Linked DNA regions of Homo sapiens: region 1 is linked to region 2. Evidence: promoter capture Hi-C in human tissues and cell types (Jung and others, 2019). All regions are on one chromosome and are shown on one strand. The core of a region is centred on a gene start or on the middle of the fragment in contact, and the rest is flanking DNA. Distances in the headings are between cores, read along the strand shown.

Evidence for each region. The method cuts DNA at HindIII sites, captures the fragments that hold promoters and counts their contacts. A contact is called where the count stands out against the background at its distance.
Region 1: a fragment that was not itself captured here is called in contact with the fragment with the promoter of MRGPRE in region 2 in 1 of the 25 tissues and cell types used here (small bowel).

Annotation. Positions count from the first base shown.
Region 1 is chr11:3,695,872-3,701,195 of GRCh38, reverse strand. NUP98 (nucleoporin 98 and 96 precursor) reads left to right here. Exons shown (of 33, transcript NM_016320.5): 24 at 357-586; 25 at 1,848-2,114. Among named protein-coding and RNA genes, the nearest start is that of CHRNA10, 27 kb to the right of the region's middle. RefSeq lists a silencer at 4,541-4,761. The HindIII fragment of the contact is 3,702 bases long and covers 2,167-5,324 here.
Region 2 is chr11:3,228,833-3,234,138 of GRCh38, reverse strand. MRGPRE (MAS related GPR family member E) reads left to right here and starts at 1,722. Exons shown (of 2, transcript NM_001039165.4): 1 at 1,722-1,998; 2 at 5,279-5,306. The HindIII fragment of the contact is 8,659 bases long and covers 1-5,306 here.

The DNA.
Region 1 (5,324 bases), core at 2,768-5,267, 460 kb before region 2:
TAGAAGCTTAGCCTCATGACTTTTGATACCCAAGTATAATTTGAGAAACAGGTATCCCACAATAGCTTTTGGCCCTTGAGTTTTAGCCAGTTCTAAATCTGTTAGGATTCTCATGCTTGTTATAACCTGGCCTAAGAAGCCTTTGTGTTCTGAATGCACTGATCAGATGATTTTTTTTCCCCAGTATATAGCAGATAAGTTCAGTATAGTTTAAGAAACAAAATTTCTTTAAAACTACAGTGAAATGTTTGCATTCCGTTTGTAATCATAAAAAGAAACAGTGGTTTGGTTGAAGTAAAAATCCTAGCTTCTGTCTTAGGTTCATTTTCTATTCTATTCCTCATTTGCTCTTGTAGCCTAACTGAGTCCCCATTCAAAGTTCACTTAGAAAAACTCAGTTTGAGACAAAGAAAGCCAGATGAAGACATGAAATTATATCAGACACCTCTGGAGCTCAAATTAAAACACAGCACTGTCCATGTGGATGAACTGTGTCCTCTCATTGTCCCCAATCTGGGAGTTGCTGTCATTCATGACTATGCAGATTGGGTTAAAGAAGCATCAGGAGACTTACCAGAAGCACAAAGTGAGTACACACTATGTTTCTAATGTTTGATGTCCCAATAATAGTGGTGGTAGCGTATGTTCACGGGAGGATGAATTTCCTGGCACCAGTCTAGTAGGTAAATGCCTGTGCTTGTCATTTTCTGAGGTTGAGTTTAACTAAGCAGATTCCCAAGCAAGAAGAAATTGTCACTATGTTCTTGTCACTTTGTTCTTTTACCCATTAATGTACAAATTCTTCCACAAAGAACTGTAGCAAGTCAAATCCTTGGATTTATAAAATTGAATTTCTTACCTAATCCAGAGAACATAGGGAGAGAAATACATTCCTTCTTGCTTTACTTTTTTTTTTTTTTTTTTTTTGAGACGGAGTCTCACTCTGTCACTGTAGCTGGGAGTATAGGCGCGCGCCACCACACCCAGCTAATTTTTGTATTCTTAGTAGAGACAGGGTTTCACCATATTGGCCAGGATTGTCTCGATCTCTTGACCTCGTGATCTGCCTGCCTCGACTTTCCAAAGTGCTGGGATTACAGGCGTGAGCCATCGAGCCCGGCCCCTTCTTGCTTTTCTAAATCCTATCCATTCTTCCATATCCAGCTCAAGTACTGTTGGTCTTCTCAACAGCTTTGTTGTAATTCCTCTTCCTGGCTTCTTTCAAGATTACCTTTCTCATCTATCATGACCATGTTTTTCTGAATCAATACTTTGATAAAGGGGTTATCTAATTTATTAATATTTCAAACAGTAGAAAAATCATTTTGTTTAGCAAATCACGTTTATTGAAAAATGGGCTGTTTTAGAATGTCCTATGCCACACGTTTTGAGATTTGTTTATGTTCCTTCAGTTCTTTGTATTTACTTAATCGTCTCATTGTCTTTTCAAATGTGTAAGTTATTTTACCAGTGCATACTTGTAAGTGGCTTAAATGATAAACAGTACTTTTGTAGATTGATTTTTATAGACAGAATTTGATCAAAGTAGATATCATCTGAGATGACACTAGCCATAATTAGGCTTGGGGAACCTGTTTAACGGTTACATTTGTTATGTAAGTACCACAGAAACATGATATGAGCAAGCATTTATTTATACTATGTACTTCTGGAAATTGTAAGACGAAGTTGAGTGAGGTAGAGACAGATTCAGGGTAATCAGCTTGAGTGGTTGTTTGAGATGTCTATTAATTTATGTATTTTTAACATCACAGTTAGAAGGATGCCCTCTGTGAAGTTGTTGTAAGACTTTGTCTCGTAACATTGTTTTTCTCTTCCTGCCTTAGTTGTGAAGCACTGGAGCCTGACATGGACACTATGTGAAGCCCTATGGGGCCACCTGAAGGAGCTTGACAGCCAGCTAAATGAACCCCGTGAATACATTCAAATTCTGGAGCGAAGAAGAGCTTTCTCCCGCTGGCTATCCTGTACTGCCACACCTCAGATTGAAGAGGAAGTCTCCTTAACCCAAAAAAACAGCCCTGTGGAGGCTGTATTCAGCTACCTCACAGGCAAAAGGATCAGTGAGGCCTGCTCTCTGGCCCAGCAGTCAGGTGGGGAAGGCATATGGTCCTTCTCTGCGCCTCTGTCGCCTTCCTACTCACTGCCTCCTACCGCTCCCCGCTAATTGTGCATTTCCCTTTGGCTTCTAGCCTATGAGTATTAATTGCGGACTTCCCAGAAAGATTGCTGGTTCCCGTGGAATATGTAATATAACATAAAATTTAACTTTTAATCAAGTAAACAATGTTTAAGGTCCTAAACAGAGAATTAGAAGACATAGTGCGGCTGGGCTCAGTGGCTCATGCCTGTAATTCCAGCACTGTGGGAGGCCAAGGTGGGTAGATCACACCCACCTATTCCTATAGAATAGGAACCATGACTTTTTTTTTTTTTTTTTTTTTTTTTTGAGACAGTTTCACTCTTGTTGCCCAGGCTGGAGTACAATGGTGCGATCTCGGCTCACTGCAACCTCCTCCTCCTGGGTTCAAGCGATTCTCTTGCCTCAGCCTCCCAAGTAGCTGAGATTACAGGTGCCTGCTACCACACCTGGCTAATTTTTGTATTTTAGTAGAGACAGGGTTTCACCATGTTGGTCAGGCTGGTCTCGAACTCCTGACCTCAGGTGATCCACCCACCTTGGCCTCCCAAAGTGCTGGAATTACAGGTGTGAGCCACTGCACCCAGCCGAACTATGTCTTCTAATTCTTTTTTTAGGACCTTAAACATTGTTTACTTGATTAAAATTTAAATTTTATATTACATTTGTAATAAAACTAGAAAGCATAGATAAGCTATCAATCAAAATCACCCAAATCCTGTGACTACTACTCACTGCAAACATTTTAATGTGCAATTTGTACTTAATTCTTTACTTTGTAATACATACAAATATGTCCAGACACTGTGACATATGCTTGTGAACTTTTCAAAGGTGATATCCTGCTGTGTATTATATTCTGTTCTTTTCATGTGGCACATTACAAATGCCCTGTAATACAGATAATTATCAAATACTTCTTAGCATTCTTTTATGTATAAATGTACCATAGTAGTAAATTTCTTCCTTCACATTGAGACTTTTTTTAAAACTATAAACAGTACTCTGAATTGCTATAAAATATGTTCTATATCAATTCATTCAAATAAATATATAGAAGTTGAATTTCTGGGTTGAGGTACTCACTGGCTTTTTAAAAGGAATTTATATGCATATATTTACTTCTTTAAGTTCCCTTTCACTAATGAGGCAATTCAGCAAGTACTTAATGACTGCCTAGATATAAATCTTTTTTTTTTTTTTTTTTTTTTTTTAAGACAGAGTCTGTCTGTGTGTTTACCAGACTGCTGGAGTGCAGTGGAACGATCTCAGCTCACTGCAACCTTTACTTCCTGGGTTCAAGCGATTCTCCTGCCTCAGCCTCCTGAGTAGCTGGGATTACAGGTGCCTGCCACCATGCCCAGCTAGTTGTCTTTTTTTTTATTTTTAGTAGAGACAGGGTTTCGCCATGTTGGCCAGGGTGGTCTCAAACTCGTGACTTCCAGTGATCCACCCACTTTGGCCTCCCAAGTGCTGGGATTACAGGCATGAGCCACCGTGCCTGGCCATAAAGTCTTGATAAGAATACAGGATGGCATAGTTCAGCTTAATCTAATATGATCAGATCCTTATTCAAACCTTGATTGTTGGAACCTAATTTATCCAAAGCCAACTAATTGGAGCCATCGACTGGATTTATTTTGAAGAGTTTTGCCACTTTTGGGATTATAAGGAACAAATCACAGGAAAAGCCAGAATCAGTAAGCTATATAAAGGGCTTGTTGCATTCCACTGTCACTACACATTTAGCCTGGTAGCTTCCTGTTTTCTTTTCTTTTTATTTTTTAAATAGAGATGGGGTCTGTATGTTGACCAGGCTGGTCTCAAACTCCTGGCGTCAAGCAGCCCTCCTGCCTCAGCCTCCCAAAGTGCTGGGATTAGAGGCGTGAGCCACCACATCCAGCCTCCGTCTGGTACTATTTATGGTCTTTGTGCATTTGTACAGTGAGAATTTATCTTTGGGATTGATCTTGTATGAACTTATTATGAATCATTAAAAAAAGGTTATGCTCACCAGGACACCAACATGTAGTAGGAGAGGATCTTAAGGCATGCCAGAGTCAGATTCTTAGGGCTGTTGATTCATAAACTCCACTTTCTTCCTGTTTATTTTGACTGTAAGGCTAAACCTCTGGTAAAGGTACTGCCTTTTAGGTTACTAAAAGCTTTTGCTTTACTACTCCCCCCCTTTTTTTTTGTTTTTTGTTTTGTTTTTGTTTTTGTTTTCGAGACAGTCTCGCTCTGTACCCCAGGATGGAGTGCAGTGGCATAATCTTGGCTCACTACAACGTTTGCCTCCTGGGTTCAAGCGATTCTCCTGCCTCAGCCTCCTGAGTAGCTGGGATTACAGGTAACGTGCCACCACACTCGGCTAACTTTTGTATATTTAGTAGAGATGCCGTTTCGTCATGTTGGCCAGGCTGGTCTCGAACTCCTGACCTCAGGTGATCCGCCTGCCTCAGCCTTCCAAAGTGCTGGGATTACAGGCGTGAACCACTGCCTCCGGCCTTTTTTTTTCCCTCCCCCCTGCACCAAGACAGAGTCTTGGTCTGTCACCCAGGCTGGAGTGCAGTAGTGCAATCTCTGTTTACTGCAACTTCTGCCTTCTGGGTTCAAGTGGTTCTCGTGTCTCAGCCTCTTGAGTAGCTGGGACTCCAGTCACGTGCCACCACGCCAGGCTAATTTTTGTATTTTTAGTAGAGACAAAGTTTCATCATGTTGGCGAGGTTGGTCTCGAACTCCTGACCCCAAGTGATTTGCCCGCCTTGGCTTCCCAGAGCACTGGGATTACAGGTGTGAGCCACCGTGCCCAGTGTTTTCCTCCATTTTTCCTTTTTATGTTTAAGATAGAGTCTCGCTCTTGTTGCCCAGGCTGGAGTGCAATGGTGCGATCTTGGCTCACTGCAACCTCCAACTCATGGGTTCAAGTGATTTTCCTGCCTTAGCCTTCCAAGTAGCTGGAATTACAGGTGTGCACCAGCACGCCCGGTGATTTTTGTATTTTTAGTAGGGACGGGGTTTCACCATGTTGGTCAGGCTGGTCTCGAACTCGTGACTTCAAGTAATCCACCTCCCTTGGCCTGCCAGAGTGCTGGGATTACAGGCATTAGCCACCATGCCGGGCTGTTTTCCTCCATTTTGTAGCTGAGGTGTCTTGCCTAGT
Region 2 (5,306 bases), core at 473-2,972:
AAGGTGGGTCAATTGAAAGAGGGGGACAATTGCAAGGGAAGGGCAATTTAAAAAGTGGGACCATTGGAAAGAATGGGGCAATTGGAAGGAGGGGGACAACTAAAAGAGTGGGATAATTAAAAGGATGAGGCAATTGGAAGGCTGGGACAATTGGAAAGAGTGGGAAAATTGGAAGGGTGGGACAGTTGGAAGGCTAATGCAATTGGAAGGTGGGATAATTGGAGGGTGGGACAACTGGAAGGAGTGGGACAAATGGAAGAGTGGGACAATTGGAAGGAGTGGGACAAATGGAAGAGTGGGACAATTGGAAGGAGTGGGACAATTGGAAGAGTGGGACAATTGGAAGGAGTGGGACAAATGGAAGAGTGGGACAATTGGAAGGAGTGGGACAAATGGAAGAGTGGGACAATTGGAAGGAGTGGGACAATTGGAAGAGTGGGACAATTGGAAGGAGTGGGACAAATGGAAGAGTGGGACAAATGGAAGAGTGGGACAGTTGGAAGGAGTGGGACAATTGGAAGGGTCGGGCATTTGGAAGGGTGGGACAGCTTTAAGGTGTAAGACAAGTGGAAGGCATGGAACTTATGAAAGGGTGGGATGGACAATTGAAAGGAGTGGCACTATTGGAACTGTGGGACAACTGGAGGGAGTGTGGCACTTAGAAGGGTGAGATATTTGGAACGTGTGGGGCGATTGGGAGCACTTCCCCCACACCCCTGGGCCATCCTTGAGTGACCACCCACTGGTAGGGCCTCCCAGAGCGGTGGCAGAGCCCAGGCATGGTTTACAGAGCCTCGGGCACCTGGCAGCTCGGATCCTGGTTTAGGAAGGGAGGATTTGAAGCTGAGACACAACTCAGCAAGCGGCACTGCTGCCTGTCAGATACCAGCCCCGCATGGACGTCAGACACCAGCGCGACACATTCATCAGACACCAGCATTGCACAGACGCCAGACGACCTGTGTGCGGCCCCTCCGTTTTGGGGATGGAGGATGCCGGTGCCCTGGGGGATGCCTGCTGATGTAGTGACAGGTCAAAGGCCACGTGCGGGAAACTTGCTCTCACTTGGTCCGCAAGAGGAGAGGTCAGGCGGACTGCGCAGAGTGGGAAACGCTCCGGAGCAAATCCGTGCTGTTTCTGCACTCTTCTCTACCTCGGAGATTTTTCTAAAGACAAAGATGAGAAAAGAGTTGCTAGGGCCTGGACTCGGGGAGGAACAGAGGCCAAAAAATGACCTTGTTTTCCTTCTCTTGGCACGTCAATTGCGATCTCCCTTAAGGCAGGGCACTGGAAGGAAAGGCACGGTCTGAAACGGGACTTGAAATCACTGAGTTCACGAGGTCTCCCGGAGCCTGACGCTGCTGTATGTGTTTGATTCTCCTCGGCCGGGGACCGCGCGGCAGCTTCTTGACACCGGCCATCTACTCTGTGCCTGCGAACGAGGCAGGAGGGACGGCCTCACGCACATCCCCGCTCCTCCCCGCGGTCCCACACTGCCTGGAGAGCTGGGGCCGGCAGCCTGTGCTCTGCGGAGAGAAAAACACATTTTTGCTGCAAGGACAAGTTCCGCCGGTAGCCCGGCTCTCAGCCGGCCCCTCCGAGGCACAGATGGAAAGAAGTGGTCCCTAAAGGGCCCTACAGGGCTTGGTGTCTCTGAGCCAGGAGTGCCAGTGAAGTCACAGCTTGGCTGGGCTCCACCCAGAGATCTCGTGGTTTCCTCTGCCTGCCAGGCCTGCCTGGAAGGCTGCAGGGAGGTTCAGGGTTTCTCTTGCTGTCCACACCTGGGCGAGAGCTGAGCGGAAGAGAAGGGGTCCTCAGAGAGACACCTTCCTGACCGGCCCCATTCCAGCTGGATGCCATGTGACTCGGAGGAGCTGGTGGACACTGAACAGGAGCCGCCCAGAGGCTCTGGGGACTGGAGCCCTCGGCCGCGGCCAGGATAGATCCAAGGCCCAGGGTCAGAGCAGGCAGGGCTCGGCCAGTCCTCTGCCCCAAACGGTGAGTAGCGCAGGTGGCTGGATCAGGGTGGGTCTCTGGGGCCGGCCCAGGCGCTCGGCATTTTCTGGGCTCTTTTGCTGGCCAGATGGTGGCAGGGGTGGGGCGTGGGCAACAGCAGATGCTATCAACAGGGAGCTCTCCAGGCTGCAGCCTCCGCCCTCTGACGGGCCGCACCACCTGGTCCGCAGCCAGCCCTGGGCTGAGTCTGGAAGAGGACGATAGCTTGGGTGATGGCTCCCCAACCCCCCACCCCCGGTGGCTCTGTCTCCTGTCTGCCTTGCTTCCTCCATGATCTAGAGTGTTCCCTGCAGGTGCAGACTCTCAAGGGGAGTCATGGGGGCAGCCGGGGATAGGCCCTCTCCTCCCTGCCACACCTGGGTGCTCAGCCTCAGGGCTTCTCAGTATTGGCTGTCTGGGCGGGACACAGAGCCACTCCTGGACCACCCAGGGATGGGGAATGCTGTGCCTCCCTCCTCTTCTGTTCCATCGTCCTTCCCCGCCTCCTCCCCTCCTTCTCCTCCCCCTCCTCCTCCTCCCTCCTGTTCTCTTCCATCGTCCTCCCCCGCCTCCTCCCCTCCTTCTCCTCCCTCTCCTCTTCCTCCTGCTCACCAAGGATGCAACAAACTCCTCTACTCCCCACAGTCCTGTAACCCAACTGTGGCGACCCTTCCTACAGAGCTCTGCCTCCCTCCCGAGCCCCCAGTGGGGCACATGGTCCCACAGGGAGACCTCCTCCAGGGTCACAGCAGAGAGGGGGCAGCAGCAGGGTCTGGCTGAGCTCCGTGGCTCTAACCCCTTGTCCCCCTGTTCTCCTCCCTGTTTCCTTCTCTGTCCCCCATCTCTTCATGCCTCTCCCCTTCCTGCACTCTCCCCTCTCCCTCTATGTCCATCGCTTCCCTGCCATGCTCTCTCCCTGGGGCCCACCCATGAGGCCCGTGTCCTCCTCAGCCATGCAGGAGGTGAGATAGGAGAGGGACCATGGCCCTTGGTGGGCCACAGGCTGGAGAAACCCCACCTGTTGCTTTGGGGCTGGAGCTTGCTGGTAGATCCCGGAGATAGCTCCGTCCATGGGTGGACGGGACTTGTGCCTGGGAGGGGGTCCACCATCAACAGACTTAAGACCTCCCAAAACTCATCTCTGCCTCCCTCTGGGCCTGAGGGTTGGTGACCCCCCCAAGCTATCCTGAGTAGGAGAGCATCTGTCCCCCTCCCCACATCTCCCCACCTGCCATGGCAGTGATGCCCCGTCTGCCCCACTCAGGGTGTCCTCCTGATGATGCTGGCCCAGGTGGGGCTCCCTCCACCACCACCTCACCTCCCACCCATGGTCTGCCTTCCCGGGGCCTTGGGTGCTAGGATGGAGCACAGGGACAGGAGGAAGAGCCCTATATCTCCAACCAGGCTTGACTCCACCCGCAGGAGATTCAGACTGGACCACGGGCAGGACTCAGCTTCCTGAGGTGCTGGGACTGGGGCCTCCTCTCCACTGAGCCCCCCACCCCCATGCCCACCCCTGAGGCGGGGACAACCTCAGGCTGTCATTTCACCCCAGTCAAACAAAAGACCACAGAGCTGAGGGTGTAAGCCGAGGGAGATGACCAGCACCTCACGGGGTGGCTGGCACCTCTGTGCTCAGCGATAGCCCCGCCCCGGGCCACCTCTCCCCAGCATCCCAGCACCGCAGCGTCCCCCTGCATGGTCTCGGGTGCTCCTATCACTGGAGGGAGACAGCAGGGGTTCTGAGCACAACCTTGAGGTGGGAAGAAGCCGCTAAGACCAGCTATGGGGGTTTCTGCTTGTACCCCCACCCTCCTCACCCCAAACCCCAGCCCTCCCAGGACACAGGAGGACCAGCCACCACCAAGGTGGGAGGGGCACCTGGTGTCGGCCCCTGACCCCAGCCAGTCTCTGGGGAGAGGCAAGGCCCCATCCCCTCTCCCCCAACCCCAAGAGGAGAAGCTGGGGTCACCAAGCACTCAGAGACACATGACGGGCCAGGTAACCACAGGGGCAGCATGGGGCCGGGTATCTGCAGGCATGTCTCCGGCTCTGAGCACCTGGCAGTCTCCTAGAGTCTATTACTTGCTGTATTTCTGGCAAAGCTGTGATGAAGACTCCGATTCCAGCCTAGGTCCCCTGGGATTTGTGCTGCCTCCCAGGACTCAGTACCCCTCCCGCAGGACCTGTCCCCGTGAGCCGACTGCCTTGGGAGGGGATGGAGGGAGGCTGGAGACGCCATGGAAGCTCAGGGCCCCTCCCAGCCCCATCATCAGACAGCTCCCTCTTCTCCCCATGGGGAAAGGGCGGGCAACGTTGAGCAGGATGCAGCCTCCTCATGTGCCCCCTACCCTGCAGAGGGCTGGAGTCCTGCTGTAGGACAGCAGGGACATGGCCAGGGGAAAGGGAGTTTTCCTGTGGCCCTGATGTGGCTGCATGGTGTGACCAAGCTGGAGGGCTGGGGACTGGGAGCCCACTGGCAAACAACCCCTCATGGATGTCAAGGAAAGGCCTCAAAGAGTTGAGGGCTGCTTTAAGATGATGACGAAAAGCCCCACAGCCACTGTAAGCTGTCCCTCTGTGGTCACACCACTCATTAGACATGGGCGGTGCCTCCTGCTCTGCCTATGACTTTAAAATAAGTCATATTTTATTCTTTGGGAGTCCAAGGCAGGCGGATCACGAGGTCAGGAGTTCGAGACCAGCCTGGCCAATATGGTGAAACCCTGTCTCTACTAAAAATGCAATAAATTAGCTGGGCATGGTGATGCACGCCTGTAATCCCAGCTCTTCGGGAGGCTGAGACAGGAGAATCACTTGAACCCGGGAGGCAGAGGTTGCAGTGAGCCGAGATGGTGCCATTGCACTCTAGCCTGGGGCAACAGAGCCAGACTCCATCTCCAAAAAAAAAAAAAAAAAAAAAAAAAAAAAGCCCATTCTGAGGATCAAGGCACCACTAGCAACAGGGAGCCCCATGGGTCTCAGACCCTCTCCCCACATCTCCTGGTCCCTGCCCCCACCTGGCCTACAGGGACCAGCCCCACGGAAGGCTCTTGAGGCCAGGTAACCATGGGGAGGGGAGGAATGGGGACACCTTCCTCCTGAGTGTCTTAGGGAAGAGAAGCTTAGGTCAGGTGGCTGAGGGTGGAAATGAGAGAGGGGTCTTCTCCTGGAGGGTCTCACCATTCCCTTGGTCACCCACCCAACTCTCATCTCCCCTGATGTGGGGAGGAGCAGGGGGCATGGATTCCTGAGCCCCAGACTCAACTGTTGTGGTTTACAGGGGCATCAGGAGAGAGAGCGAGCAGAAC